Regions from separate parts of the Homo sapiens genome. Here regions 1, 2, 4, 5 and 6 are each linked to region 3. The links are contacts of gene promoters, found by promoter capture Hi-C in blood cells and fetal thymus (Javierre and others, 2016). All regions are on one chromosome and are shown on one strand. The core of a region is centred on a gene start or on the middle of the fragment in contact, and the rest is flanking DNA. Distances in the headings are between cores, read along the strand shown. Region 1 overlaps SLC25A3 (solute carrier family 25 member 3). Region 2 overlaps LINC02453 (long intergenic non-protein coding RNA 2453). Region 3 holds the start of CDK17 (cyclin dependent kinase 17). Region 4 overlaps APAF1 (apoptotic peptidase activating factor 1). Region 5 holds the start of LOC124902994 (a long non-coding RNA gene). Region 6 overlaps TMPO (thymopoietin).

Region 1 (4,546 bases), core at 1,521-4,020, 2.2 Mb after region 3:
AACTTTTAGGGAGGGCTTGTTAGTATCCTTGTGATCTATTCACAGTTAAGAATTTCCATGACCACAACATGCTTCCTTAGATCCACCTTTGTGGATGAATCTTGAACTGAGTTCCACTTGTAAACTTCTTGTTTCTTGTGGTTCCAGTAGTCAAAGAAACATCCAGCAACTTTTTTGGTTGTATAGTCAAAGGTGCTTGAGTCATTGGCATGTAAGAGAAATATACCTGCATGTTAGTCTAACGTTCTGATAGAAATGACATGCATTTATGCTGCCATTTGTTACTATCAGGACTCGACTCGTGTGCGGACATTTCTGTTAATAATGACAGTCTCTGATAGATGAGTGTATGCAACTGTGTAAAACAAGTCTCTTGATTTCCTAGATTCTACAAGGGGGTTGCTCCTCTCTGGATGAGACAGATACCATACACCATGATGAAGTTCGCCTGCTTTGAACGTACTGTTGAAGCACTGTACAAGTTTGTGGTTCCTAAGCCCCGCAGTGAATGTTCAAAGCCAGAGCAGCTGGTTGTAACATTTGTAGCAGGTTACATAGGTACGAATTACTTAGAACACACTTGTCTGAAATTATGAACAAATAATCATTTCCATTATTGGCGTTTTTTGAGAGGGAAAAATACTCCAAAGGTTATAAAGCAGTGTTTTTGTTTTTTTGGTTTCCCTGAGGCATAGTCTCGCTCTGTTGCCCAGGCTGGAGTGCAGTGGCATGATAATAGCTCACTGCAACCTCCTCCTCCTGGGTTCAAGTGATTCTTCTGCCGCAGCCTCCCAAGTAGCTGGGACGGGCATGCACCGCCATGCCCGGCTGATTTTTGTTTTTGTTTTTTGTTTTTTTTTGAGATGGAGTTTTACCCTTGTTGCCCAGGCTGGAGTGCAGTGGTGCAATCTTGGCTCACTGCAGCCTCCGCCTCCTGGGTTCAAGCGATTCTCCTGTCTCAGCCTCCTGAGTAGCTGGGATTGCAGGCGTCTGCCACTACGCCCGGCTAATTTTTAGTATTTTTAGTAGAGACGGTTTCACTATGTTGGCCAGGCTGGTCTCAAACTCCTGGCCCCAGGTGATCTGCCTGCCTTGGCCTCCCAAAGTGCTGGGATTACAGGCGTGAGCCACCGCGCCTGGCCTGATTTTTGTAAAGATGGGGTTTCACCATGTTGATGAGTCTGGTCTCAAACTCCTGACCTCAGGTGATGTGCCTGGCCTATAAAGCAGTTTTATCTTCCCATAACATTTTATATGCTTTTTAGGATTCATAAATACTTGCTAACTAGTTCCTAAAAGGGCTGTTTCATGGGATGTCATTATTAGGCTTGGGAATGTATTGATCTTACTGTTGCACCATTTTTTTGTTGTTGTTTATTAAGAATTTTATACAGAAAGTGTTGAATAAAATCTGAAAAACTTTAAAAGATTGTTCCGTTTTACATAGGATAGACAGCTTGATAACTGTACCCGTGTCACCCTGAGTCTGATTTTTATTTTAGAACTAGAAAAATATTATTTTAAAATCATAAAAATGATTATTGGCTCTGTGAAGTTTTGTTTTTAACTGGCACTGTATGGGATCCTTTATCTTTTTTCAGCTGGAGTCTTTTGTGCAATTGTTTCTCACCCTGCTGATTCTGTGGTATCTGTGTTGAATAAAGAAAAAGGTAGCAGTGCTTCTCTGGTCCTCAAGAGACTTGGATTTAAAGGTAGGATGATGTTTTTTTCTTGAAAGAAAGAACAACAGTTTTGGATATGTTGCATTTTTTTCATTTGCTTTTCCTGTTTGAACCAGGTGTATGGAAGGGACTGTTTGCCCGTATCATCATGATTGGTACCCTGACTGCACTACAGTGGTTTATCTATGACTCCGTGAAGGTCTACTTCAGACTTCCTCGCCCTCCTCCACCCGAGATGCCAGAGTCTCTGAAGAAGAAGCTTGGGTTAACTCAGTAGTTAGATCAAAGCAAATGTGGACTGAATCTGCTTGTTGATCAGTGTTGAAGAAAGTGCAAAAGGAACTTTTATATATTTGACAGTGTAGGAAATTGTCTATTCCTGATATAATTACTGTAGTACTCTTGCTTAAGGCAAGAGTTTCAGATTTACTGTTGAAATAAACCCAACTCTTCATGATTTGCCTGTGACTTATTTTTAAAACTTTTTTAAAAAAGATTTAGCTTTAAAATAGTTGGAAAGAATGAAGTATATAAGTTAAGGAAAAAATACAAAACTGACCATGACCATTGTTGGTTGAATATTCCAGTTGCTATTCAGAAATTGTCATATGTCTCAAGTTTTATCACACAAAGTTCCTGTATTTCTAGGGAAGCAGACTTTAAATTTCTAAAAACTTGATTTAATTATAGTTAAATATGTGTAGTCATTTGTGGTTATTTTGGCAAGTAAATGTCAGTGTATACTTACATTTTTGCAGCATGTACTACACCTTTTTTATGTTGGTGAGTTTGCTAATCCTTATTTGTAAGACAAGGTAAACCAAATTAGGCTGATTCTTAGAATGACAGTAAAGGACCAAAGTGATTGACAGCTGAAAACAATTTTCAGGTACACTAATTCTCTTTACACAGATCTGACTTTTTTTTTTTTTGAGACGGAGTTTCACTCTTGTTGCCCAGACGAGTGTAGTGTCGCGATCTCGCCTCACGGCAACCTCTGCCTCCCAGGTTCAAGCGATTGTTCTGCCTCAGCCTCCCAAGTAGCTGGGATTTCAGGCATGTGCCACCACGCCCAGCTAATTTTGTATTTTTAGTAGAGACGGGGTTTCCCTGTGTTGGTCAGGCTGGTCTCGAACTTCCAACCTCAGGTGATCCGCCCGCCTCAGCCTCCCAAACTGCTGGGATTATAGGCATGAGCCACCGTGCCCGGCTCTGACTTTTTACAGAAAATTGAACTATTTTCAGTCTGGTATTTTAAGAAAGGTACTGCTTGACAGCTGAACTATATGAATGCCACTGGGGAAAAAGCATTCCATCATACTTAGATACGAGATTGGATTGTAGGTTTAAGCCCATTTTTAAAGAGCTCCTAGAAAGTGAATTAGTTTTTGTGTTTAGATTCCCCTTAAGTTTGATTAGGAAGTGTATAAAAGTTCAATCTTTTGTAATGACAGCCCACCACTGGAAAAAAAACGAAAAACCTAGTGTAATATATAACATGCTGTTTTTCAAACACTAGATTTTACCTAGAGTCCTTATGTGTAATACGTGGGTTGGTTAACAGTCCCTACGTAAAGCGTACAGATGGCCTGGAGAGAAAAACTTTTTCAGAGATTGGAGAGAAATGTTACTACAAACTCATGGTAAGGTCAGTGAACTCAATTTAGAAGCCAGTGCAGCTAGTTGCATGTTAACTTCTTTATATCATCATTGCCTGAACTTGTTAAAGGTTCCAACATTTTACCTGTGCTGCAGGAAAAAAGGAAAAGTTGTAGGTACAAATTTGGACCAAACTTTAAAAAGGTAAAGTAGGATGTCTTCTGAACCCAACCAAGTGGTGGCTGTGGTGCTTAGCAGTATCAACTGTATATTATTTCTTGCTATGTTAGCAAAGCATCCAAAGATCAATGGTGTATGATAAGCTTTTCTGTGGGTGAAGAACTCGGGAGTATCAGACTCTTCTGGTTCTGAGTCTCATGAAGCTTTTCACTTCTGAGCTGAAAGGATGCTCTTTGTGCTTTTCACTATTAGTGGTATAGTCTTTCCCGAAAATCTCTAGCATGGTGGCTTCAGGGCAGCTGGACTTAGGTGGTATTTTGGGGCTCCAGGAGAGCTTGGCAGAGTTGGCTTTTTAGGACTTATCCTTCAATGTCACATAACATCACTTTTACCATGCTCTTGGTTACAACAGTGATGTCTCAGAAACCAAGTCCCAGATTGAGGAAAAAAGGAACATAGTCTCTACCTCTTCCTGAGAGGAAAGTCAGTCAACGTGTAAGAGGAGCAGTAGAAACGCATTAGTCCAGCCAACGTGAAAGTGGACCGTAGATCTAAAACATTTTGGGTATGCAGTTCAGCCAGCCCTTACTGAGGCAGTTCTGCCAATCAGGATTCAAGTTTTATTTCCTAAGAGTTATAATAGGTTTTATTTGTGGGCATTGATACAAAATACGCTGTGTTCAAGCTATGGAGCCTGCCACTGTAGTTACTAGAGTTACGGTTCAAAGCTATTTCTGAGAGAAAGCCACTTCATCCTCAAAACCCAAGAGGCCCACTTAAAGTGATGCGAATTCTCATTTCAGGTTTTTAAATTATACTAAAAGATTCTAGTAAGAAAATTTTAATATGTATGTATTGGTGTTCTTTTTACATTTCATTTAATGAAATGTCTACTGTCAATACGATAAAGCAGAACCCAGTGGAGTAAGAATACACGAAACTGCCAGGCACAGTGGGTCATGCCTGTAAACCCAGCATTCTGGGAGGCCGAGGCGGGTGGATCACCTGAGGTCGGGAGTTCAAGACCAGCCTGACCAACATGGAGAAACCCTGTCTCTACTAAAAATACAAAATTAGCTGCGGTG
Region 2 (4,557 bases), core at 1,073-3,572, 2.1 Mb after region 3:
GGTTCTTGTTATGCAGATAAAGCCTCCAGGTAGCAGGCTTCAGAAAGAACACATTGTAATTATTTCTGGGTCTCACTCCATCACCCAGGCTGGAGTGCAGTGGTGCAATCTCAGCTAACTGCAGCCTCAACCTCCCAGGCTCAAGCCATCCTCGCACCTCTCAGCCTCTGGAGTAGCTGGGATTACAGATGCGCGCCACTACGTCCTGGTAATTTTTGTATTTTTAGTAGAGACAGGGTTTCACCGTGTTGCCCAGACTTATCTCGAACTCCTGGGCTCAAGCAACCCACCTGCCTCGGCTTCCCAAAGTGCTGGGATTACAGGAGTGGGCCACAGCACCAGGTCAGATTGTAAAACTTTTAATTTTTATTTATTTTTTTTATTTTATTTTATTTTATTTTATTTTTTGAGACGAAGTTTCGCTCTTGTTGCCCAGGCTGGAGTGCAATGGTGTGATCTCGGCTCACTGCAACCTCCACCTCCCAGGTTCAAGTAATTCTCCTGCCTCAGCCTCCCAAGTAGCTAGGATTACAGGCGCCCACACCCCCACCCCATGCCTGGCTAATTTTTGTATTAGCCAGAGATGGGGTTTCACCATGTTGGCCTGGCTGGTCTCGAACTCCTGACCTTCAGGTGATTCACCTGCCTTGGCCTCCCAAAGTGCTGGGATTATAGGCGTGAGTCACCATGCCCAGCCAAAAATTTTATTTTTTACCTTTTTAAGGTGCAAGACTCTCAGTAAATTCTCTCCTGGTTAAGGAAAAATATCTGGAAAGGGAAGGGGATTCTCTACTGAAAGTAGATTTTCCCCACAAGAGACACCTTTGCAGGGCCATTTCAAAATGTGTCAAAAATATATATATATTTTTTGGGGTAAACTACTTCAATTTACTTCAGGGCCTGCTGTCTGTCATGTTGGTATCTTACTGCTACAAAAAGCCTTCTTTGTCAGACTTATGTTAATGCTGGTCAGATGTGCCTGAATCCCAAAGGGACTCTGTCCCAAAGGGAGGAGAGTATAATGAGGCTTGTCTGACCACCTGTTCCCATCATGACATGAACTAGCGTTTCAGGTAACTTTGGAATGCCCCTGGACAAGGAGGCATCCATTCAACTGATTGGGGAGCTTAGAATTTTATTTTTGGTCTACATGGTAAAGCTTAAAGTTGCGGAAATCATTATCCTCAGTCAAGCTAAAGCCTAGGTATCCAGACCTCTCTTTCACCTAATTTATTTGCAATTAATCCAAAGTTCTAGGCCAGGCACAGTGACTCACACCTGTAAACCCAGTCCTTTGGGAGGCGGAAGCATGGAGGATCACCCGAGGCCAGGAATTCAAGGCTGCAGTGAGCTAAGATTGCACCACTGCTCTCCCGCCTGGGTGACAGAGCAAGACCCTGTCTCTAAAAGAAATTTTTAAAACAAATAACAAAGTACTGGTTTATGCTGTATTTATAAAACAACATATGTAGTAAGATTTTCTTAGTTTTAGAACCCAGAAAGCTGTGCCAAATGCTTTGAGAGTTGACTTATTTCCTATTAGGTTTTTTAAATACTTGCAGTCCAGATACTGCTTTTAATTTTTTAAAAAACAGTATCCATACTTACAGGCTCTGATTAAGTTTCAAAGACTAAGCCTGCCATGCTTGTCGGTGTGTGATTCCTTCCTCTAAGATTCCAGACATTCCCGTCTCCAGGCATCACTGTGTCGGGGGAGCGCTGTGTGAAAATGGCTGTGATCTTTGTGCGGTTTGTCCGGTTATACCTCACTGGGACACCAGAGGGCGCAAGGAGGGCCAGCACTTGTTTTTCTTTAAATCTCGAATCAAAGTCCATGCAGAGAACAACAAAAGACCCGGAACACAGGGGCCTTGAGACAAAGGGACTCAGGGGAAAAGGCTGCACGCCCTGTTTTACTGAAGTGGAATTTGCTTCTTCACCCTCCTCACCTCCTCACCTCCTCCCCACCTTAAGGAACTAGAAATAAACAACTTAAGCTGCAAAATAATGAAATCTGGCTAACAAGGAAAACCAAACTAGAATACATTACTCAACATGTCATAGGCTAAGAGGACTATCACAAATGTACATTTGAGCTATTTGCTTTGCCTAATATTAATAACTTTAAAGAAAATTTTATTGTTTGCTTTTCTGAGTTCAATATATGCACATAGTAGAAAATTTAGAAAAGGTGGAATAGCAAAAAGAACAGCGATCATCAACACACTCTTAACCCAGATATAACTACTTTTAATATCTTCAGCTACTTCTTTCCAGATGTTTTCTTCTTTCTTTCTTCCTTTTTTTTTTTTTTTTTTTTGAGACGGAGTCTCACTCTGTCCCCATGCTGGAGTATAATGGCGCGATCTAGGCTCACTGCAACCTCCGCCTCCCAGATTCAAGTGATTCTCCTGCCTCAGCCTCCCGAGTAGCTAGGATTATAGGCACCCACCACCACGCCCAGCTAATTTTTGTATTTTTAGTAGAGACGGGGTTTCACTCTGTTGGCCAGCCTGGTCTCGAACTCCTGACCTCAAGTGGTCCTCCCGCCTCAGCCTCCCAAAGTGCTGGGATTACAGGCATGAGCCACCGCACCCAGCCACCAGACGTTTCCAGTACTTACAAATGCATAGAAAAAAAATGGGATTCTGCGTGCTATTTTGTGCTGGTTCTCTTCTTATTTTCTAGATCACTAACTTCATTTTATTGATAAATTCTGATAATAAAACTTTGCTAATCATATGAGTTAATCACAGGTAGGAGAATAAGAAATTTCAAAAGCTACAGGCAGCTTTTTTCCCAAAATAGCAGCAACTTGAATGCCAGACCTGAGTCATGCATTTGAAGCAGAAGTTTTTCTGTTGCTTTGTGTTTAGAAAACACGGAAAGACTAAAGAAAAGGCCTGTCGCAGTGGCTCACACCTGTAATCCCAGCACTTTGGAAGTCCAAGGCGGATCACAAGGTCAGGAATTTGAGACCAGCCTGGTCAACATGGTGAAACCCTATCCCTATTAAAAATACAAAAATTAGCCAGGCATGGTGGCCCGCACCTGTAGTCCCAGCTAATCGGGCAGCTGAGGCATGAAAATTGCTTGAACTTGGGAGGCGCAGGTTGCAGTGAGCCAAGGTCACACCACTGCACTCCAGCCTGGGTGACAGAGTGAGACGGGTCTCAAAAAAAAAAAAAAAATCCAAAGAAAAGAAGTAGAAACTGTTCCATCCCACCCCAAACAGGCTGAATAATTTGTCCTTCTGGGTAGCCTGAGGACTGAATGCCAAAGGGCCAGGGGGTGTGGGTCACCAGGACCCTTTGTTCCTCACACTGGGGCTAGTGTTTGCCTCAAAGCTAGACAGATCAGTAAAGCTATTAACCGGGATAGGTCAGCAGGTGGTCAGTAGGGCAGGAAAAAAGTCAGGAAAACGGAGGTCACTGATCTCCTGTTGGGTTGGGGCCAATGTTGGCAGGCAGGTTCCTTAAAGGACAGGAAGCTTAGGCCAGCCCAGGAACAGATAACTCTAAGGAAAGTGATGGCAAGATCTGAGGCCCTGAAAACCTCTGAGGGACACCTAATCACTAAGCCCACAGATTCCTTAATTTACAGCAACAGATAAAGGTGATGTTCTCGGCCACAGGAATTTAGTTAAATCACTGGAGCTGTCTGGCCTCAGTTTCCTTATCTGTATAACGAAAGGATCAAGAAGATAGGTAAGGTTCCTGTCAGTTCCTCAAAGATTGTGATGTTTAATTCTCCCCAGTCATGCATTATAATGAAAGGTGAAGACATTTCCTGCCCCCTGCCACTCCAGTCCCCTAAGCAGCAGCCCCTCCACCATATACTCTTTCCCGCATTGCCACTTTTCCCAAATTGCCACATGCTCTGAGCCTTTGTATTAATGTTTCTCTGTTCCCTAAGTGCTGGAAAACATTTCCCCCATTCTTTTTCTAAGTTCATCATCATTCTTTGGTGGCCCAGCTAAAAATAGGTCTTTCTTTGACCACTCCAGCCCTTCCCTCTCTGTAATCCCGTAGTATTCTGCACATACCTCCATCACTTTCTACCTCTGTAGCCTTCATCTTCCAGTGCCTCAGTTTCCTCACTGTAAAAAGGAGAAAATTATTATAGCAAACTCATAGGATTTAAATAAGGATTAAATGGTATTAAATAAAATGTATAGTAAGTCATTGGTTTGAACTGAGTTCCTACACTAGGCCCAACAGACAAACCAAAATAGAGTCACTCATGCTGGAGTTCCACACCACTAAGCTGAAAATAAGTTGTTTATCTGACCTTCCAAGAAATCAGGAGGGGGCGGAGCATGGTGGCTCACACCTGTAATCTCAGCACTTTGGGACGCCAAGGCAGGTGCTGAGCTTGAGATCAGGAGTTCAAGACCAACCTGGGCAACATGGAGAGCCCCCACCCCCCAACACCACCACCATCCCTCTACAAAAAATACAAAATATTAGTGGCATAGTGACGCGTGCCTCTGATCCCAGCTACTCCAGAGGCTGAGGTGAGAAGACCGGTTCAGGCAGGGATTGCAATGAGCTGTGA
Region 3 (5,180 bases), core at 2,211-4,710:
TAATATTAAGGGACATCGTCATCTCCACTTTTGAATAGCTACCCCAGTTGCCATTACAGCTTCCATTGTTCAAAATAAAATAGTTGCATTGTTTTTCAGTGAAAGGAAAGAAGGAAAATATTGCTGAAAATAAGGAAAAAAACAAGCCTCAACAAAGCAACAAAATGATTTTATATGCCATCTAGTTTCGCCATAATTGTAGGACTGAACTGGTATCTGAAAACTAAATATATCAACAAACATATACGTTAAAATCTGCGCTTAGTCAACATAGCTATCCCTGTGCTACCGGGCAAATAAAATTTAAATTTTCTATTTTTTTTTTTATTAAAGCAATGACTTATTAGAGACTACTGGTATATGAAGCTGCAATACACATGGGGATCAATTCCTCCAATTTCATGTTTCCTTACTATGTATGTATCTCTTTTTGTTTTTTCATTCTGGTAACCAGAGTACATATGACAGGCTGCATTATTTCAAATACCTAACACTGAAAGTTACTTTCTGGCCTGAATCTAAGGATGAGAATGATACATTTTATAGAAGCTTCTTTTAGTACAGCAATAGGCAAATTACGATATTAACAAGACTTTAATTCTACATTTACATTTTTTTCTCATTGTAAATGTAATGTGAAACTTATAAAATACAGGAAAAAAATGTTTAATCACCAATAAATCCCACCATTCGTAAACCTTGCTACTTTTTGGTAGATTTCCATCTAGTAACACTGAAGGTTCAATTTTCTAATTCGATACTGATAAATATGCAGGAAAAAAAATCAATGGAGCCTCAATATGGCCTTTCAATAAATGTACATAAAACAACAATTATTAATTATATGACCTGTTAATTTCACAAAAGTCTCTAAAATGTTTTAAGTGGTGGAGTAGGGTAAGGAGTCCATAATTCAGACACTAGCCCTCAAACTGAAATCTCTTCCACAATGTTTGTATGTCAACCCTTTAACGGCAGTGAGCAGCAAGCTATGACTGTTCGTACAGTGATATCAACATTAATGTCTCTATATTAAACAGGCTTTGCTTTTATTTTCTTTCCATTTATACTTCAATAGTGTTTTATTTTCACTGTAAAAATAAATAATAACCTATATTTGCATAGTAATTTTACATAAGCTTAAATTCAAAGACTCCCGTTTTTTTTTAAGCCAACCATTCAAACTGTTAGTGCTTCTGGCCTATGAGATGGTTTACCAGATAAAGTAACATTCTTTATATTCCAATATTCTCTCTCATAACATAAAAAAGAATTTAAGGAATATCCCTTAGTCACATTTTCTTTTGTTCCAACCCACTGTTTATGGAAGCATGCAGATGTTAAGAGTTGCAAAAATTGAAATGACTTCATTAACAAAGCAACATCCCAACGTTTAATGTCAACTCCTCAGACTCATAAAAAAATGAAACAAAACCAATTATATTACCACTAGCAAATTTTTTCCCCTTAAAATCTAGTTTCGTCTTATTTCTAGTTTCAAGGCAAGCTTTGTCTACCCAAGGTATCAAAGGTCTTCAAATCTCATTCATTTTCTTCTGCCCAAGAGTTAAGAAAGTAAGTCTAAAACAGAACAAGCCAGATTTGTTGCTGTGATCTTCTCACACGAACGCCTTTTAAAAGAAATCTTTCAACAAAGACTCAAAAAAGAAACAGCAAAGTTTGGGGAAAGAATTGTCTGTCTTTAGGTCAAGCATTTCCTGATAAGTGACTGAAGGTCTGGCTGCCAGGAATACACTTTGCTGACCCTAGGAATGGCCAAGTCTCAAAACAAAATTTGCCTCTTCTGTATCTTGAAAGTGACCTGTTAGGACCTGATGTCAATTTGACGAAGAGGTGATAGAACATGACCAACGAGGTGTCTTTGGTGGACATATTCATGTAAAGGAGGCGAGAGCCACAGATTTCAGCTAAACGCTTTTTGCCACTTTTGCAAAAGAAAAGCTAATTGTTAACGGCCATGTGACATTATAGATCCCAGAAAAGGAAAGGGTGGGAGGAAGAGAGAGAAGTTCAAGGCAGTTCAGGGTCAGAACAAGCTCAGACATCCTGTCATTAACAAATGTTCCCCAAGCTGAAAGCAAAATACTGCTTACCCGAAAAGGAGTGGGTGAAAAGTAGGGGGAGAACGAGGGAAAAACCACAGGAGAGTCAATGTGGCAGTGTGGGGGTGACAGGAGGGAGGGAATCTGGAGCTATCCAGCTGAGTTGGGGAGCAAAAGCATCGGGCATAGCATCGGGCACAAAAATGCTGAGAAAAGCAACTGCGACGGAGACAGCACTAGGCACCCTCCTCCCCCCATTTTCCCCTCCCCATCGGTTTGCTGGGTTTCCCACCTTCCCTCTACCTCCGCTCTTGACCAACACTCCGGGGTGTGACCCGCCAGCAGGAGGCTGCCCTGATCTTTGTCTCTACCCGCTCCCACGCGCGGGCTCCTCCTCCTCCTCCGCGCTCCCCACCCGCGCACAGCGCCAGCGTCTCCAAGGAGCTGCAGGCGCCGCGACCGCCGCCTCCTCGCCCACCTCCCGCGGACCCGCGCCCCTTCCTTCCCCTCCCGGGCAGCGTCGCCTGCGCCTCCAGCTCCACCCCCGCCGAGGGGACCTTTGTGTCTCGGGGGACTTTCTGCCTCTTTCCCCTCCTCCGCCTCGCGAGGAGACCGGCCTCCCCCGCAGACCAAAGCGGCAGCGAGCACCGGAGGCGGCGGCGTCTATATCTGTCGGCGCCTCCTGGGAAGCAGCTCGCAGACACTCACACCCCACCCGAGCCCCGGAAATCCCCGGGCGACCCAAGGTCCTCGCTGGACCGGAGAGGTGACAGGCGCACGCTAGCCCCCCGCGCCGCGCCTCCTCGCTCAACTTCCCGACCGGGCCTGAGCCACCCGCGCCCCCAGTAGCCCCCGCCCCCGCCTCTGTCCCACGCAGCCTCCCGGCCCCGCGGCCGACCCGACACCAGGGGAAAGCGCGGCGCGGACGCCAGCCGCCAACTCACCAGCAAGAGCGGGGACCGCGGGTCCCGAGGCGAGGCGAAGAGAGGCGCGGGGGGAAGCTGCTCCGCGGACGCCCGCGGCGACCGGATGCAAGTCCGGGTCTCAGCGGCCGGCAGACGTGAGGCGCTTCCGAGCGCAGGCCTCCGCCGCCACAGCCGCCTTCCGGCTCTCGCCGCGGGTCCGGAGCCTCGGGAGGGGCCGCGGGTGTCTCACGCGTTGCCAAGTCCCTCGGTCAACATGGCTCCCGCGCCGACGAGCCGCGCGGACGGCCCACTAATCCCCTCGGAGCAGCCGGGCGCGAGCGCGGCGGGCGCCGACGGCGGGCTGAGACTGTCTGGCCGGGCGCTGGCTCCTTCTCCGCGGCTCTGCGGCGGCCCGCGGGGAGCTCAGGAGACTGCGGGCGGCCGCGTTCGCTCCTTGCGTGTGCGTCGCTTTCACACTCGGCGGCTGCGGATTGACGCCTCCGCCTGTTCCCCGGAGGAGAGCGAGTGCAAGAGAAAAAACACTTTTATTGAAACGATCCAACCAGCGGCGGCGGAGAAAAGCGACCGGCCGCGGGAGCTTACCCCACCCCCGCCTGAGCGGCTCGCCGGGGGCAGCGCGACCCCTGCCGGCGGCGGCGGAGGCGGGGGCGGGGCCGGCGGCCGGGGGCGGGGCCTGCAGGGCGGGGCGGGTGTCCCCGGGAAACTGCCCGCTCCGAAATGCGGGCGTCGGGGGAGCGGCGGAGGGGGCCAGGGGACCCCACCGGAATGAGTGCCTGTCCGCAGCGACTGGGGGAGAAATTATGTGAATAATTCAGCCCCTCCAACATCCCCCTGCCCCTCAACTTCCCGCTACCAAACCAAAACTCGTGCTTCAGTTATACAAGTAATTACTGTACAAGGTGTCCATGCCACAGTTCTCCACTGACTTTCTAGAGAGTCCATGTCAAAGGACCCACACTGAAAGATGTTGATGGCTGCAACTTTTCTCCTTTGTTGTGTGTGGGTACGTGGGTACTAGTGCCGCAGTCTCTCACACACACGGCATCTATTCATTTAAACTACAGTACAGTGTTTTGTATATATTATCATGTGCCCGGCAATATGCTGAGTCCTCTAAGGACGGAGAGTCTAGCTGGGATGAAAGATGATCAATAACTATCATAAAAATCTGAACGTTATGAGCGGAGAAATACAAGGTGCTATGAAAACAGAAAGGACTACTGTTGCACGGGTTAGGTTTTGTTTTCTTGGGGGAGGCGGGCCGCGAGAGGTTGGCCCAGTTTCTGCAACTGTTTTTACTTTCTCCTTTCCCAGAGGCTAAAAGCTAGTTCAGGAATGAACAGCAGAGTGGCAGTGAAGACAAACTAAAGTAATACTGACCCACTTTTTTCCACTAATAAGGATAAAAGCATAAAGTTAAAACAAACTTAAACCCCTAGAGGGAGATAATGAGAGGATTGAAAGAAGAGAGTAGGGACCGGATGTAGACAACATAAACAAGAAAAAAAAACCCACATAAAAGTCCTGTGAAGTGAGATAAATTTTTTTTCCCATGTTAACACCCGGAAGTAGAAGCTGCTTTGAAGTTTCAAATCACATTATGTGCTAAGAACTTCGGGGAATTATCTTTTTGGATTTAGGGATGAATCCTTTCCCCCTTAAAAATGCTGCATGCTGACATCTTTCTCTTATTTTGTTTGGCAAAGTTAAATGCATCTACAGTTATATCCAACGATCGTACGTGTCAATCAGGCTTTTCCCATGCCTCTAAAATTACCAGGACCCGTAAATTAGCAACAATTATGCTCTACGCGTATTTAACACTTGTTTACCAACCAAGAATGCAAATATACATAACAAGCTTTCCGTTAGAACAAGTGCGCTTTGTTTAAAAGCACTGTTAATGAGGCTTTTTAGATTTGTCCAAGTCAAACTTGGAACTTTATAATATAGCAAGATGTAGCATCATTTTCAGAGTTCTTTTTAAGTTAAAGAGAAACACTGATATTTATACAAGGCCTATTTATATGAAAGGATTTTCATATACTTGCCTCATCTAAATTAGTACTTTAGTAAATATCAAAAAATCACCAAAAAAGGGAGTCTATGAAATGGCATTCTGAGTTTCAGCATTAATACTTATACCTTCATATCATTAGATTAACATTACTCCATGAGAAATAAAAAGATT
Region 4 (4,840 bases), core at 2,073-4,572, 2.3 Mb after region 3:
CAGGTGTAAGCCACCATGCTTGGTGTGTTTTTAAACATTTTTTTGTAGAGACAGGTTTTTGCTATCTTGTCCAGGCTGGTCTCAAACTCCTGGGCTCAAGTGATGCTCCCGCCTTGGCCTCCCAAAGTGCTGGGGTTACAGATGAAAGTCACCATGTCCAGCCAAAATTACTAAATGATAGGATATACAAATACCAAATTTGATTCCCCTCCAGTCTGTACATTTCCCCCAGATGAGTATGGGGACTCCGATAATTCTACTTGTGCAGTGACGGTTGGTATGATCCAGCTTTGTAATTTTTGCCAGGCAAACTTCTATAAAGTTGTGTCTTTTACTTTGCATTTCTCTGGTAACTCAAGTTTGAACATTTCTTCATAAGCTTGTTGTTAGCCTTTTGGGTTTCTTTTTTTATGGATTTTGTTTATATTATTTGTCTATTTTCCATTGGGGTTTCCAATTTTTTTTTCTTTTTGCTTTTTAGGAGTTTCTTATATATTCTAGACATTAAACTTTGTTGGTTTTAGACTTTTATTTTATTTTATTTTATTTTTTTTGAGACGGAGTTTCGCTCTTGTTGCCCAGGCTGGAGTGCCATGGCGCGATCTTGGCTCACCACAATCTCTGCTTCCCAGGTTCAAGCGATTGTCCTGCCTCAGCCTTCTGAGTAGCTGGGATTACAGGCACCCACCACCACGCCTGGCTAATTTTGTATTTTTAGTAGAGACGGGGTTTCTCCATGTTGGTCAGGCTGGTCTCGAACTCCCGACCTCAGGTGATCCCCCTGCCTCGCCTCCCAAAGTGCTGGTATTACAGGCGTGAGCCACTGTGCTCAGCTGGTTTTAGACTTTTAAATACCTTATTTTAATTTGCCATCTGATTAATTTTTTTCCTGGGTGTTCTCAGTAGACGAGAACTCTGATGTAGTCAAACTAATCAGTTTTTTTTTTTGTCTTCTAACTTGTGTTTCCTGAGTTTTGTTCAAGTAGTCCTATTACAGTCTTATTATTCATATTTAGTTCTTTATTCTCTGGAGTCTGCCTTTGTATGTCCACTAATTCAAGAATAGGTGCTTTCCCAAAGATAAATTTTAATCTCTGGAGTTCACTTCCATTCTCAAATACAGGAACATTGGATTTTTGACATTTAATTGTATTGCAAAACCTTTTCTTTTAAAAGTACAGATAATATAAGAGATCTAAATTTGATTAAAATTGTGGTTCCTATGGAAATGTTTTCTTTGGGTGGTGATTGGCATAAATTAAAGAATATTAAGTTGTTAACTTTTAGCTGGGTGTGGTGGCTCGTGCCTGTAATCCCAGCACTCTGGGAGGCCGAGGTGGACAGATCATTTGAGGTCAGGAGTTTGAGACCAGCCTGGCCAACATGGTGAAACCCCGTCTCTACTAAAAATACAAAAATTTGCTGGGCGTGGTGGCGCATGCCTGTAATCCCAGCTACCCAGGTGGCTGAGGCATAAGAATCGCTTGAACATGGGAGGCAGAGGTTGCAGCGAGCCAAGATTGCACCACTGCTCTCCATCCTGGGTGACAGAGTGAGATGCCGTCTCAAAAAAAAAAAAAAAAAAAAAAAAAAAAAAAAAAAATATATATATATATATATATATATATATATATAGTTTTTAACTATTTATGTCTATACAGTTTTAAGTAACCCAGTTGTCTTTTGAAATTTCAATGCTTTAATTTTTTCTTATTTGTAGGGAAATAGTAAAGAATTGACGTATCTTTAAATACAGTAGTGACATTTTACATTACTGTATTCGTATGTTGGTTTTTAATCATGGATGCTTTCTTCATAGGCTGTGTTCCTATTTGTTTCTGTCCTTTCCAAGATTTCTTTGTGTTATTAGATTATTAATTGCTACCAGGATAAGCCTCCTGTGAAAGTAGTGTGGAGTTTTCCCTGAATAAAGGCAACTTTTCTCTGAATTAGTTTCTCTGAGTGAATTGTAAATACAGCCTCCTCATGCAAAGCTAAATTGCTCCCTCTTGTGCCCATAGTCAAGATGTTTAGATTCTTTCTGAAATGTGGAATTAATGGTTCAGTTTTTAACTAAATGTTATATTGTGATGGTTAGAGATTTACATATCAGATGGTCATTTGGTCTGTTTGCCTTTTTAAAGCTGGTAGTGTTTTCTCTTTTCTTGCATGTATTTAAATGCCCTAAATTTTTAGTTATACATTTAGGGAAAAAGGCCTTTGACCCTAGGTAATAGGTACATAAATTAAAATATGAAAGAATTTACTAGGTAGCCATATCAGGATGCTTTCTTTACCTTTAATCTTGGGATGATTTTTACAAATTTTATTTTATTTTATTTTATTTTGAGACAGAGCCCCATTCTGATGCCCAGGCTGGGGTGCAATGATCTCAGCTCACTGCAACCTCTGCCTCTTGACAGTCCCCCTGCCTCAGCCTCCCAAGTAGCTGGGACTACAGGTGTGTGCCACCACACCCGGCTAATTTTTGTATTTTTAGTAGAGATGGGGTTTCACCATGTTGGCCAGGTTGGTTTCGAACACCTGACCCAAGTGATCCCCTCGCCTCGGCCTCCCAAAGTTCTGGGATTACAGGTGTGAGCTGCTGTGCCTGGCCGATTTTTACAAATTTTAGGTAGTACAAATTTAAAAAAATGGAAACTTAAGGCAACAGATAGTTTATTTGTCTGTTTTTGTTTGTTTAAATATTTTTAAAGTAGTATTTTCTTTTTTTTTTTTTTTTTTTAATTTATTTTTTTATTGATAATTCTTGGGTGTTTCTCACAGAGGGGGATTTGGCAGGGTCATGGGACAATAGTGGAGGGAAGGTCAGCAGATAAACAAGTGAACAAAGGTCTCTGGTTTTCCTAGGCAGAGGACCCTGCGGCCTTCCGCAGTGTTTGTGTCCCTGATTACTTGAGATCAGGGATTGGTGATGACTCTTAACGAGCATGCTGCCTTCAAGCATCTGTTTAACAAAGCACATCTTGCACCGCCCTTAATCCATTTAACCCTGAGTGGACACAGCACATGTTTCAGAGAGCACAGGGTTGGGGGTAAGGTCACAGATCAACAGGATCCCAAGGCAGAAGAATTTTTCTTAGTGCAGAACAAAATGAAAAGTCTCCCATGTCTACTTCTTTCTACACAGACACGGCAACCATCCGATTTCTCAATCTTTTCCCCACCTTTCCCGCCTTTCTATTCCATAAAGCCGCCATTGTCATCCTGGCCCGTTCTCAATGAGCTGTTGGGCACACCTCCCAGACGGGGTGGTGGCCGGGCAGAGGGGCTCCTCACTTCCCAGTAGGGGCGGCCGGGCAGAGGCGCCCCTCACCTCCCGGACGGGGCGGCCGGCCGGGCAGGGGGCTGACCCCCCCACCTCCCTCCCGGACGGGGCGGCTGGCCGGGCAGAGGGGCTCCTCACTTCCCAGTAGGGGCGGCCGTAGTATTTTCATTTAAAAAGAAAAAGAAATAAAAGTTCTCCTTACTTGTTCCTTTTTGCTTTCTCCTAAATTCTTAATCTTTTTATTTTTATTTTTGAGACAGAGTCTCACTTTGTCACCTAGGCTGGAGTGCAGTGGCATGATCCTGGCTCACTGCAGCCTCAACTTTCCAGGCTCAGGTCATCCTCCCACCTCAGCCTCCTGAGTAGCTGGGCCACAGGCGCACAGCACGTTGCCTGGCCAAAATTTTTCTTTTTTTTTTTTTTGAGACAGAGTCTCACTCTGTCGCCCAGGTTGGAGTGCAGTGGCGCGGTCTCGGCTCACTGCAAGCTCGGCCTCCCGGGTTCACACCATTCTCCTGCCCCAGCCTCCCGAGTAGCTGGGATTACAGGCACCTGCCACCACACCCAGCTAATTTTTTGTATTTTTAGTAGAAACGGGGTTTCACCGTGTTAGCCAGGATGGTTTCGATCTCCTGACCTTGTGATCCGCCCACCTCGGCCTCCCAAAGTGCTGGGATTACAGGCATGAGCCACCGCGCCCGGCCTTGCCTGGCTAATTTTTTGTATTTTTTTAGGGACGTGGTTTCACCATGTTGCTCAGGCTGGTCTCGAAATTCTGGGCTCAAGCAGTCTGTCTACCTTGGCCTCCCAAAGTGCTGGGAGCCACCGTGCCAGGCTCTAAATTCTAAATCTTATCCTAGAGATAATCTTGGTTAACAATTCGGAGTAAATTTTTCCAAACTTTATTCTCTGCAATTATAAATATATACACATACAGAACACAGCTTTAAGTTTAAGTGAAGTCTCAAGGACTTGCTGTTTCATAACTGCAAACTTACACTGAAGGAGGCCTGAGGGGACCTCAGGAAACTTTAGGAGTAAGCAGTAGGGCTTGTCTACCTTCTTCTAAGACATTGGCACTGATAATCAAACCAGGCTTCACAGCCCTGTCTCTACCTCAGTTACTGTAGAGTTCTCTGTCTCCAGTTGTTTGTTATATTTTAGACTTTCATGCAGTCACTATTCAGTACATTGCCAAATTCTGATCTAAGTCTTCTTCTGTCATTCCTATGTGTTTCTGCCATACCCTGTAGAACTCCTCTGTGAGCAGGAAACTCTCTTGTATCATCAACTTCTTAGAATATTCGCCGTCTTGCCTTATCTGAAACTGGGCAGTTTCCTGAGTTTACTACCTTCTCCATAACCTTCTTAAGTGACATGGCAACTTTTTTCCTTTATATCCTACATACTTTAGCACCAGGAAATGGGTGGGCGTTGTTCTTGCTCTCTGTTGTCTCATCCAGACCATTAATACTCCCTTCTCCAGCTGAATGCTTTGAGGTTCATGTCTCTAACCTTTCCTATTGATGTAATCACCGTCTCATTCATTGA
Region 5 (4,617 bases), core at 463-2,962, 2.1 Mb after region 3:
CTGGGCAACACGACAAAGCCCTGTCTCTACCAAAAATGTAAAAAAAAAATGAGCCTGGCATGGTGGTACGCACTAGTGGTCCCAGCTACTCAGGAGACTGAAGTGAGAGGATAGCTTGAGCCTCAAAGGTGAGATTATGGTGAGCCAAGATGGCACCACTGCATTCCTCAGCCTGGGTGACAGAGCGAGACCTGTGTCAAAAAAAAAAAAGAAAGCAAAAAGAAATGCTAGGTCAAATAGTGTTCCCCAATAATTCATGTCTACCTGGAACCTCAGAATGTGACCACATTTGGAAAGAGGGTCTTTGCTGATATAATTAAATTAAGATGAGGTCTTGGTGGGGCGCAGTGGCTCACACCTGTAATCCCAGCACTTTGGGATGCCAGGGTGGGCGGATCACCAGAGGTCAGGAGTTTGAGACCAGCCTGGCCAACATGGTGAAACCCCCATCTCTACTAAAATTACAAAAATTAGCCAGGCGTTGCAGCATATGCCTGTAATCCCAGCTACTTGGGAGGCTGAGGCAGGAGAATCACTTGAACCCAGGAGGCGGAGGTTGCAGTGAGCCGAGATCATGCCACTGCACGCCAGCCTGAGTGACAGAGACTCCATCTCAAAAAAAAAAAAAAAAAGATGAGATCCTATTAGATTAGGATGAGTCCTCATCTAATGACTGGTGTCCTTATAAGAGAAAACAGAGACCCAGAAGAGACACACAGGAAGAACACCCTGTGATGATGGAGGCAGAGATTGGAGGGATGTGGCTACAAGCCAAGGAACACCAACAATTGCCAGCAACCACCAGAAACTAGGAAGAGGCAAGGAAGGGTACTCCCGTAGGGCCTTCAGAGGGAGCACAGCCATATTGACACTCTGATTTCAGATAGCCTCCAGAACAATGTGAACAGAAACAAAAACATTTGTGTTGTTTTCAAGGCACCAGTTTGTGGTAATTTGTTACGGTAGCCCTAAGAAATGAATATACTTTCCATTTTGTTATTTTCTTTCTGCTCATCTGAATTTCCTAATTTTTCTACATTGAACATGGATTATTCGGATAACAAAAGCTTAAAAATTCCAAGCTCTTCCTTGATTCTGCATCCCCTTGCTCCTTCCCTGGATGGTCCAGCTTCCCTCGCAGGCTGAGTGTAGTCAATGTCTTACTTGCTCTCCTCCCAAACAGGCCTCTGCTCGGTGCAGTCTGGCTTCTACCCCCACGACCCCAAGAACCTGCTCCACCAAACATTGCCACTGGCCTCCATACTACTAAATCTCCCAATGTGTAACCCTTCTTACTGACCATCTCTACCACGTTTGTCAAATTCTCTTGCCTCCTTAAAAAGCTCTCCTCCTAATGATGCACACCATGGAGTATTCACAGCAATTAAAAACTGTGAGTTGGGGCTAGGCGCGGTGGCTCACACCTGTAATCCCAGCATTTTGGGAGGCCGAGGTGGGTGGATTTCTTGAGCCAGGACTTCAAGACCAGCCTGAGCAACATGGTGAAACACATCTCTACAGAAAAATTAAAAAATTAGCCAGGCATGGTGGTAAGTGCCTATAATCCCAGCTACCCGAGAGGCTGAGGTAGGAGAATCGCTTGAGCCAGGGAAGTGGAGGCTTCAGGTGGATACTCCAGCCTGGGCAACAGATTGAGACCCTGTCTCAAAAAAAAAAAAAAAAACAAAAAAAAAAGGAAAGAAAAAAAATAGAAGGAAAGAAAAAGAAACCTCAATGAAATTTTCCAACAGGGACCTACACTATAAATACAGACACTAGGCAATTGTCTTATTCCACTTTAGGTTCCCAATAAGGCTACACACTTAAGAACTGCAGGAATATTTAAAATAATTGAATTATTTCAATCTCAAACCATTTCATTTTATAGTATCAAAGCCATAGAACTCTATGTAAAATCAGTAGATTTATTCAGAACACTTTATTATTTCAACAAGAAAAACTGAAAGATTGTGTTTTTACATTTCCAGGAATTTGAAGTGGGAAAAATCTTAAACTTTAAGGACATTGTTTTAATATGATTTCTTGCAATTGATATTTATAATAATAAATTTTTTTCACCTTCCTCATTATTAAAACTTTAGAAACAATGAACATAAACCTTTAGAAATCAAAATGTTATTAAGGTTTTGTTTACACGAGCAGGTCTTGAGTTTCTAGAAAAAAAAAACAGAAAACAAAAAAAAAACCTGAATGAACAAATCAACAGGTCTATTCAAGAAAAACACATCACCTTTTTTTCTATCTAAAAAGTTCATTCCTAGATTATCTCCGTGGCTTAAATCCTGATATTATACAGATTTCAGCAGCTTGTAAGTTTCCTCTGATCCTCCCTTTATATAAGCTTTCCTATGATTTCCCATCAAGTTTTTCAATTTGTTTTAAAACCACAGACACACACACACACACACACACACACACACACACACACACACACACACACACACACACACACAATTGCACATCCTCCTCTCCCAGGGCTCTCCTAATAATCTGATTTTCTGATTTATTTTTCTTGTTCTTTTTTTTTTTTTTTTTTTTGAGCCAGAGTCTGGCTCTGTCACCCAGGCTGAAGTGCAGTGGTGCACTCTTGGCTGACTGCAGCCTCTGCCTCCCAGGCTCAAGTGATCCTCACACGTCAGCCTCCCAAGTCGCTGGGACTCCAGGCACATGCCACCAAGCCCAGCTAATATTTGTAGTTTTTGTAGAGACGGGGTTTAACCACATTGCCCAGGCTGAAATCTGATTTATTTTCAAGGAGATTGGCACCTCTCAGGGAATCTTCATTTTCTCTCTGTGCTTCATTGTCCAGGAATGCCAAGCATTCTCTCTCGTAGATTACACTAGACAGGCCTGTCTTCCTGGCAGCAACAGCACGCTCCAGGCTGAAGCAACTGCAGAAACTGCGAAGAAAAACAGCACCCCCATCTCCCCTCCCTCAGGGACTATATGAGACTTAACTAAATTTGTAATCTGACTAGGATCCAAATTTTTACCCTAGAGCAAACCAACAGCTCCAGGCCAAGAGCCTAAGATTCTTCTGTCCTAGGAATGACCCACTAAGTGAGTTAAAACCTACCAATCTAAGCTAACCTAAACTAGGAGCTGGCCCTAAACAGCATTTACTCTTCCTCCAATGACTTCATCTCTTCTGATAAAATTAATCAGAGGTTCAACTGAGTTATAACTCTACTCTTTTAAATATGCTTCTTAAATTTCCCATTGGCAATAATACACTAATGATTAATTGAATGCTATTGTATTATAGCAATTAGATTTATATCCTGGGATTATTTGATATTAAAAAATATTGATCAATCCTGATTATGTGGATTGAAAAATTAATCCTATAAGTAAACAGCATATAAATAGTATATAACATAATATATACATATATATAAATAATATATGTCCTTATAGTATAAAAGTTAGAAATACAGACAAAAAGAAATGGGGGACAGTCCCATATTTTCTTATAATCCAGAATGTACATTTGTAGCATTCCTAGGCATATGTAGCAAGCTGATATATAAAATGTTAACTAGGCCACGTACAGTGGCTTACGCCTGTAATCCCAGCACTTTGGGAGGCTGAGGCAGGCAGATCACCTGAGGTCAGGAGTTTGAGACCGGACTGGCCAACATGGCGAAACCTCGTCTCTACTAAAAATACAAAAATTAGCCAGGCATGGTGGTTTGTGCCTGTAATTCCAGCTACTCAGGAGATTGAGGCAGGAGAGTCGCTTGAACCTGGGAGGCAGAGGTTGCAGTGAGCCAAGATTACACCATTGCACTCCAGCCTGGGTGACAACAGCGAAATTCCATCTCAAAAAAAAAAAAAAATTAACTGCTTTGGTTTCTAAGACTATGGTTGCCTTACCCCTCACCAGCTCCCCCCACTTCCCCACCCCAGAGAAGAAACTATTCTAAAGTGTTAGGACTTTCAGTGACTAAGAAACCACTTAAGTCAATTGTGATTATCTGGAAGCAACTAAGTGTCATTTTCTGTATCAGAATGAATGGGCAGGAGATGGACTCTGGACGTAGAAATATGGGGAAAGAAATCACAAATTGAGGCCGGGTGCAGTGGCTCACACCTGTAATCCCAGCACTTTGGGAGGCCAAGGCGGGTGGATCACTTGAAGTCAAGAGTTCGACACCAATCTGGCCAACACGATGAAACCCTGTCTCTACTAAAAATACAAAAATTAGCCAAGCGTGGTGGTGCGCACCTGTAATCCCAGCTACTCAGGAGGCTGATGCAGGAGAATTGCTTGAACCAGGAGGCAGAGGTTGCAGTGAGCCGAGATCATGCCATTGCACTCCAGCCTGGGTGACAGAGCGAGACTTTGTCTCAAAAAAAAAAGAAAGAAAGAGAAAGAGAGAAAGGAAAGAAAGGAAAATAAATCACAAATTGAGTTTTAGAAAATAATTAAGTTACATTTCTAGCACACTGATATGGTTTGGCTCTGTGTTCCCACCCAAATCTCATGTCAAATTGTAATCCCCACATGTCAGGGGAGGGACCTGGTGGGAGGTGATTGGATCATGGGATTGGTTTCCCCCGTGCTGTTCTCATGATAGTGAGTGAGTTCTCACG
Region 6 (4,685 bases), core at 1,066-3,565, 2.1 Mb after region 3:
TTTTTTTTTTTTAAGACAGCATCTTACTTCCTCTCCCAGCTGGACAGTGGTGCGATCTCAGCTCACTGCAACCTCTGCCTTCCAATTTCAAGTGATTCTCCTGTCTCAGCCTCCCAAGTAGCTGGGATCACAGGCGTGTGCCACCATGCCCGGCTAATTTTTGTATTTTTAGTAGAGATAGTTTCCCTGTGTTGGCCAGGCTGGTCTCGAACTCCTGACCTCAAGTAATGTACCCGCCTCAGCCTCCCAAAGTGGTGGGTTTACAGTCGTGAGCCACTATGTCTGGCCGCATTATATGGTATTTTTTTTTTTAAGAACTTGAGTTTAGAAAAATAAAGGGTGAAAATAGCTTAAAATGTTGCTGAAGATAGTGTCTGAGCTGCATCCTAAATGAAACAATACAGGTACTAAAGCAAGTTCTGCCTTAATCCAGGAACAACCAGGAAGCTATATGAGAAAAAGCTTTTGAAACTGAGGGAACAAGGAACAGAATCAAGATCTTCTACTCCTCTGCCAACAATTTCTTCTTCAGCAGAAAATACAAGGCAGAATGGAAGTAATGATTCTGACAGATACAGTGACAATGAAGAAGGTAAAATTTTAAATGATGTTAATCAAATGTATGGAATTTTTTCACACTCAAAATTCAGTGACCATGAAGAAAGTAAAATTTAAAACAATATTGGCAAGATACACAAATTTTATTCGTGTCATTAGAGTAATTCTGTAATTTGATTTAAATACTTTTTATTGAAAATTCTAAGAAGCAACATAGTACAAATTCATAATTTTCCATCACCTGAAATTGCAAGTTAACTTTGTCTTTTTTGCTACAAATCTCATTTTTCTGAGAGAATAAAGTATTACAAGTAAAGGCAAAGTTTCTCGTACTTACCTGTACCTATCACCTCCACAGAAGTAACTACTATTATTAATTCAATGCCTGTCTTTCAAGTTTTATATTTCACATACACATCTGTCTAATACATGGTATTATTTTATACTTTAAGAATAAAAAATTTATATAAACAGTATGCTAAATCTTATCACTTGCTTTTTCTTACTCCATTATTTTTGAAATCTAATCCTGTTAATTACATATCTGTTTATTCTTCATAATTAATACATAGTGGTAGCATTTAAATATGGCATATTTTCTCTGTTCTCTATTGATAGGCATTTAAATTGTTCGCAGTTTTTGTTAATCTGACCTCAGGGCAACTTTAAAGCAAATATTTTGACTATATTTTTAGTAGACTGTATAGTATCTTAAAATTTGATCATGATGTTTAAATATTTTTTAAGGATAGTATGTGAAATAAATGTCCTTTAAAAATTATAAATACAACTTGATTTTTGTAAACTTTTAATTAATATGACTTGTGATTATTTATTTTGATCCAGATTGTTTATATCTCAATAAGCTTTGTCTACCAGGGCAAATCTGGCAGATTAGTTCAGAATATGAAATTATAGTCTTTTCCTTTGACAGCACTATTTTTAGCAAAGAGGCAAAGAATAAAATCAGCTCAAACACAGGTAATGCTTAAACTTCCTGCCTCTTTTGCCTCTACAGGAAAGAAGAAAGAACACAAGAAAGTGAAGTCCACTAGGGATATTGTTCCTTTTTCTGAACTTGGAACTACTCCCTCTGGTGGTGGATTTTTTCAGGGTATTTCTTTTCCTGAAATCTCCACCCGTCCTCCTTTGGGCAGTACCGAACTACAGGCAGCTAAGAAAGTACATACTTCTAAGGGAGACCTACCTAGGGAGCCTCTTGTTGCCACAAACTTGCCTGGCAGGGGACAGTTGCAGAAGTTAGCCTCTGAAAGGAATTTGTTTATTTCATGCAAGTCTAGCCATGATAGGTGTTTAGAGAAAAGTTCTTCGTCATCTTCTCAGCCTGAACACAGTGCCATGTTGGTCTCTACTGCAGCTTCTCCTTCACTGATTAAAGAAACCACCACTGGTTACTATAAAGACATAGTAGAAAATATTTGCGGTAGAGAGAAAAGTGGAATTCAACCATTATGTCCTGAGAGGTCCCATATTTCAGATCAATCGCCTCTCTCCAGTAAAAGGAAAGCACTAGAAGAGTCTGAGAGCTCACAACTAATTTCTCCGCCACTTGCCCAGGCAATCAGAGATTATGTCAATTCTCTGTTGGTCCAGGGTGGGGTAGGTAGTTTGCCTGGAACTTCTAACTCTATGCCCCCACTGGATGTAGAAAACATACAGAAGAGAATTGATCAGTCTAAGTTTCAAGAAACTGAATTCCTGTCTCCTCCAAGAAAAGTCCCTAGACTGAGTGAGAAGTCAGTGGAGGAAAGGGATTCAGGTTCCTTTGTGGCATTTCAGAACATACCTGGATCCGAACTGATGTCTTCTTTTGCCAAAACTGTTGTCTCTCATTCACTCACTACCTTAGGTCTAGAAGTGGCTAAGCAATCACAGCATGATAAAATAGATGCCTCAGAACTATCTTTTCCCTTCCATGAATCTATTTTAAAAGTAATTGAAGAAGAATGGCAGCAAGTTGACAGGCAGCTGCCTTCACTGGCATGCAAATATCCAGTTTCTTCCAGGGAGGCAACACAGATATTATCAGTTCCAAAAGTAGATGATGAAATCCTAGGGTTTATTTCTGAAGCCACTCCACTAGGAGGTATTCAAGCAGCCTCCACTGAGTCTTGCAATCAGCAGTTGGACTTAGCACTCTGTAGAGCATATGAAGCTGCAGCATCAGCATTGCAGATTGCAACTCACACTGCCTTTGTAGCTAAGGCTATGCAGGCAGACATTAGTCAAGCTGCACAGATTCTTAGCTCAGATCCTAGTCGTACCCACCAAGCGCTTGGGATTCTGAGCAAAACATATGATGCAGCCTCATATATTTGTGAAGCTGCATTTGATGAAGTGAAGATGGCTGCCCATACCATGGGAAATGCCACTGTAGGTCGTCGATACCTCTGGCTGAAGGATTGCAAAATTAATTTAGCTTCTAAGAATAAGCTGGCTTCCACTCCCTTTAAAGGTGGAACATTATTTGGAGGAGAAGTATGCAAAGTAATTAAAAAGCGTGGAAATAAACACTAGTAAAATTAAGGACAAAAAGACATCTATCTTATCTTTCAGGTACTTTATGCCAACATTTTCTTTTCTGTTAAGGTTGTTTTAGTTTCCAGATAGGGCTAATTACAAAATGTTAAGCTTCTACCCATCAAATTACAGTATAAAAGTAATTGCCTGTGTAGAACTACTTGTCTTTTCTAAAGATTTGCGTAGATAGGAAGCCTGGTACAAACAATTTAACGCTTTCTAGATCACATATTAGTCTCTAAGTTGTTTTCTGTTTCCTGCTTTACTTATGTTTTTACAATTCTCCAAAACTAAGAAAATTCTAATTAGGATATAAGGAGTATTTACTGTTCAATAGAATAATATGCATCCTCCTTTATACCTAGGACAGAATTAAACATTTGTTACACATTCAGAACAGTGATGTTGTTCTTTTTGATACTTTTATCTCAGTATCTTTTCACGTTCCATAACTTGTCCATATTTTTGCTCATATTTTCTTACTTTTCTTTGTTATTTATTCATGTCTGCAACATCAATCATAGTAGTCTAGATCAATGCAACTCAAAGCACCAGTCTACAAACTGTTACTTATCCACAGGCAAGATAAGCATGCACAAGAATTTAAATCTAGAGATACTTTTTAGGTCAATGACAGGATTTGATTTTTTAGCAAAATTTTATTAATAGCTAAAGCAATGTATTGATTTACACTCTGATGCAAGTAATTTATCTCTTCATTGACTGGTAGCAACCAATTCATGGACCAGTACCATGGACCACACTTTGAGAAACACTTCTTTGGATAATAATAGATATCCTGGGATAGTGCATGTTCACCATCTATTTTGTCAGATAATGGGGCCTTTTAAAAAATAATACTTTGCTTTCATGATATATTGTATTTTGTGGAAAGTTAAGTTTAGCAATATAGACTCTAAAAGCAAATTAAATTTTTTTAAGCCATAAGAAATTATACTATATCCCAGTATCTGTATGTCTGTATAAAGCAGTGTATTATCATGTTTTCATTTCTGTGATTGTAAGTTAAGAGTCTTAACTGCAGAGGTATTGTGGAAAGTAGTAGCCTTAAGCATAATAAAATATGGTCTCTTGGGTACTCCCTCTGGCCATTACCACATTCTTAGATTATATGTGTCCATCTTTGCAGCTTTCTGAGAGTAATTTTATTTGTTGTCTTCTGAAATGTACATGTATACATGTACCTACTGAGTGCTATGTGATTTTTAAAAATGTATTACTGTAGAATGCTTCTGCAAATTCAATAAAGTTGTTAAATTTGAACAGTGTTGTGTGGTCTCCAGAAACATGTTGTTCTGTGTGCTTTATTCTTGGAGTTGCAACAAGTTAAATATTTGTATATGAACACCCCTTTTCCATTTCATCATTGAAACTCACTTTGACATTTCAGTGGTATAATTGAAAATATTCTGATTATGGTATGGTTTTTCTTCTGTTTGAGGACCATGTTTTTATTGACTGTTGGAATCTAAATTTATAAGAGGAATTAATCTGTAACCAGATACCTTATTCGTTTAACCGATTTCTATTCCACTACTAATGGTTTTTTTTACTTTGTGCTTTCT

What was found. Contacts are between HindIII fragments. The CHiCAGO score rates a contact against its expected background, and 5 or more counts as called.
Region 1: a fragment that was not itself captured here is called in contact with the fragment with the promoter of CDK17 in region 3 in 1 of 17 cell types (M1 macrophages); the score reaches 5.1 in M1 macrophages.
Region 2: a contact is called between a fragment that was not itself captured here and the fragment with the promoter of CDK17 in region 3, in 1 of 17 cell types (M0 macrophages). The highest score is 7.5, in M0 macrophages.
Region 4: a contact is called between a fragment that was not itself captured here and the fragment with the promoter of CDK17 in region 3, in 1 of 17 cell types (M2 macrophages). The highest score is 5.9, in M2 macrophages.
Region 5: a fragment that was not itself captured here is called in contact with the fragment with the promoter of CDK17 in region 3 in 1 of 17 cell types (M0 macrophages); the score reaches 7.4 in M0 macrophages.
Region 6: a fragment that was not itself captured here is called in contact with the fragment with the promoter of CDK17 in region 3 in 1 of 17 cell types (fetal thymus); the score reaches 6.0 in fetal thymus.

The regions. Positions count from the first base shown.
Region 1 is chr12:98,599,570-98,604,115 of GRCh38, forward strand. SLC25A3 (solute carrier family 25 member 3) reads left to right here. Exons shown (of 8, transcript NM_002635.4): 6 at 386-558; 7 at 1,602-1,712; 8 at 1,799-4,546. The coding sequence ends at 1,959. SNORA53 (small nucleolar RNA, H/ACA box 53) reads left to right here and starts at 66; the gene lies at 66-315. The HindIII fragment of the contact is 1,663 bases long and covers 1,940-3,602 here.
Region 2 is chr12:98,489,386-98,493,942 of GRCh38, forward strand. It overlaps LINC02453 (long intergenic non-protein coding RNA 2453), which reads right to left. Exons shown (of 4, transcript NR_038383.1): 3 at 4,046-4,099. Among named protein-coding and RNA genes, the nearest start is that of TRD-GTC1-1, 12 kb to the right of the region's middle. RefSeq lists a silencer at 1,146-1,440. The HindIII fragment of the contact is 2,331 bases long and covers 1,158-3,488 here.
Region 3 is chr12:96,396,979-96,402,158 of GRCh38, forward strand. It overlaps CDK17 (cyclin dependent kinase 17), which reads right to left and starts at 3,461. Exons shown (of 17, transcript NM_002595.5): 1 at 3,008-3,461. RefSeq lists silencers at 2,865-3,024, 3,205-3,384, 3,475-3,804 and an enhancer at 4,225-4,444. The HindIII fragment of the contact is 3,343 bases long and covers 1,506-4,848 here.
Region 4 is chr12:98,652,090-98,656,929 of GRCh38, forward strand. The region is part of intron 4 of APAF1 (apoptotic peptidase activating factor 1); the gene reads left to right. Among named protein-coding and RNA genes, the nearest start is that of APAF1, 9.2 kb to the left of the region's middle. The HindIII fragment of the contact is 5,891 bases long and covers 378-4,840 here.
Region 5 is chr12:98,472,626-98,477,242 of GRCh38, forward strand. It overlaps LOC124902994 (a long non-coding RNA gene), which reads right to left and starts at 4,370. Exons shown (of 2, transcript XR_007063420.1): 1 at 4,250-4,370; 2 at 1,925-2,174. The HindIII fragment of the contact is 1,295 bases long and covers 1,066-2,360 here.
Region 6 is chr12:98,531,247-98,535,931 of GRCh38, forward strand. TMPO (thymopoietin) reads left to right here. Exons shown (of 9, transcript NM_001032283.3): 3 at 434-592. Among named protein-coding and RNA genes, the nearest start is that of TMPO-AS1, 17 kb to the left of the region's middle. The HindIII fragment of the contact is 1,786 bases long and covers 1,423-3,208 here.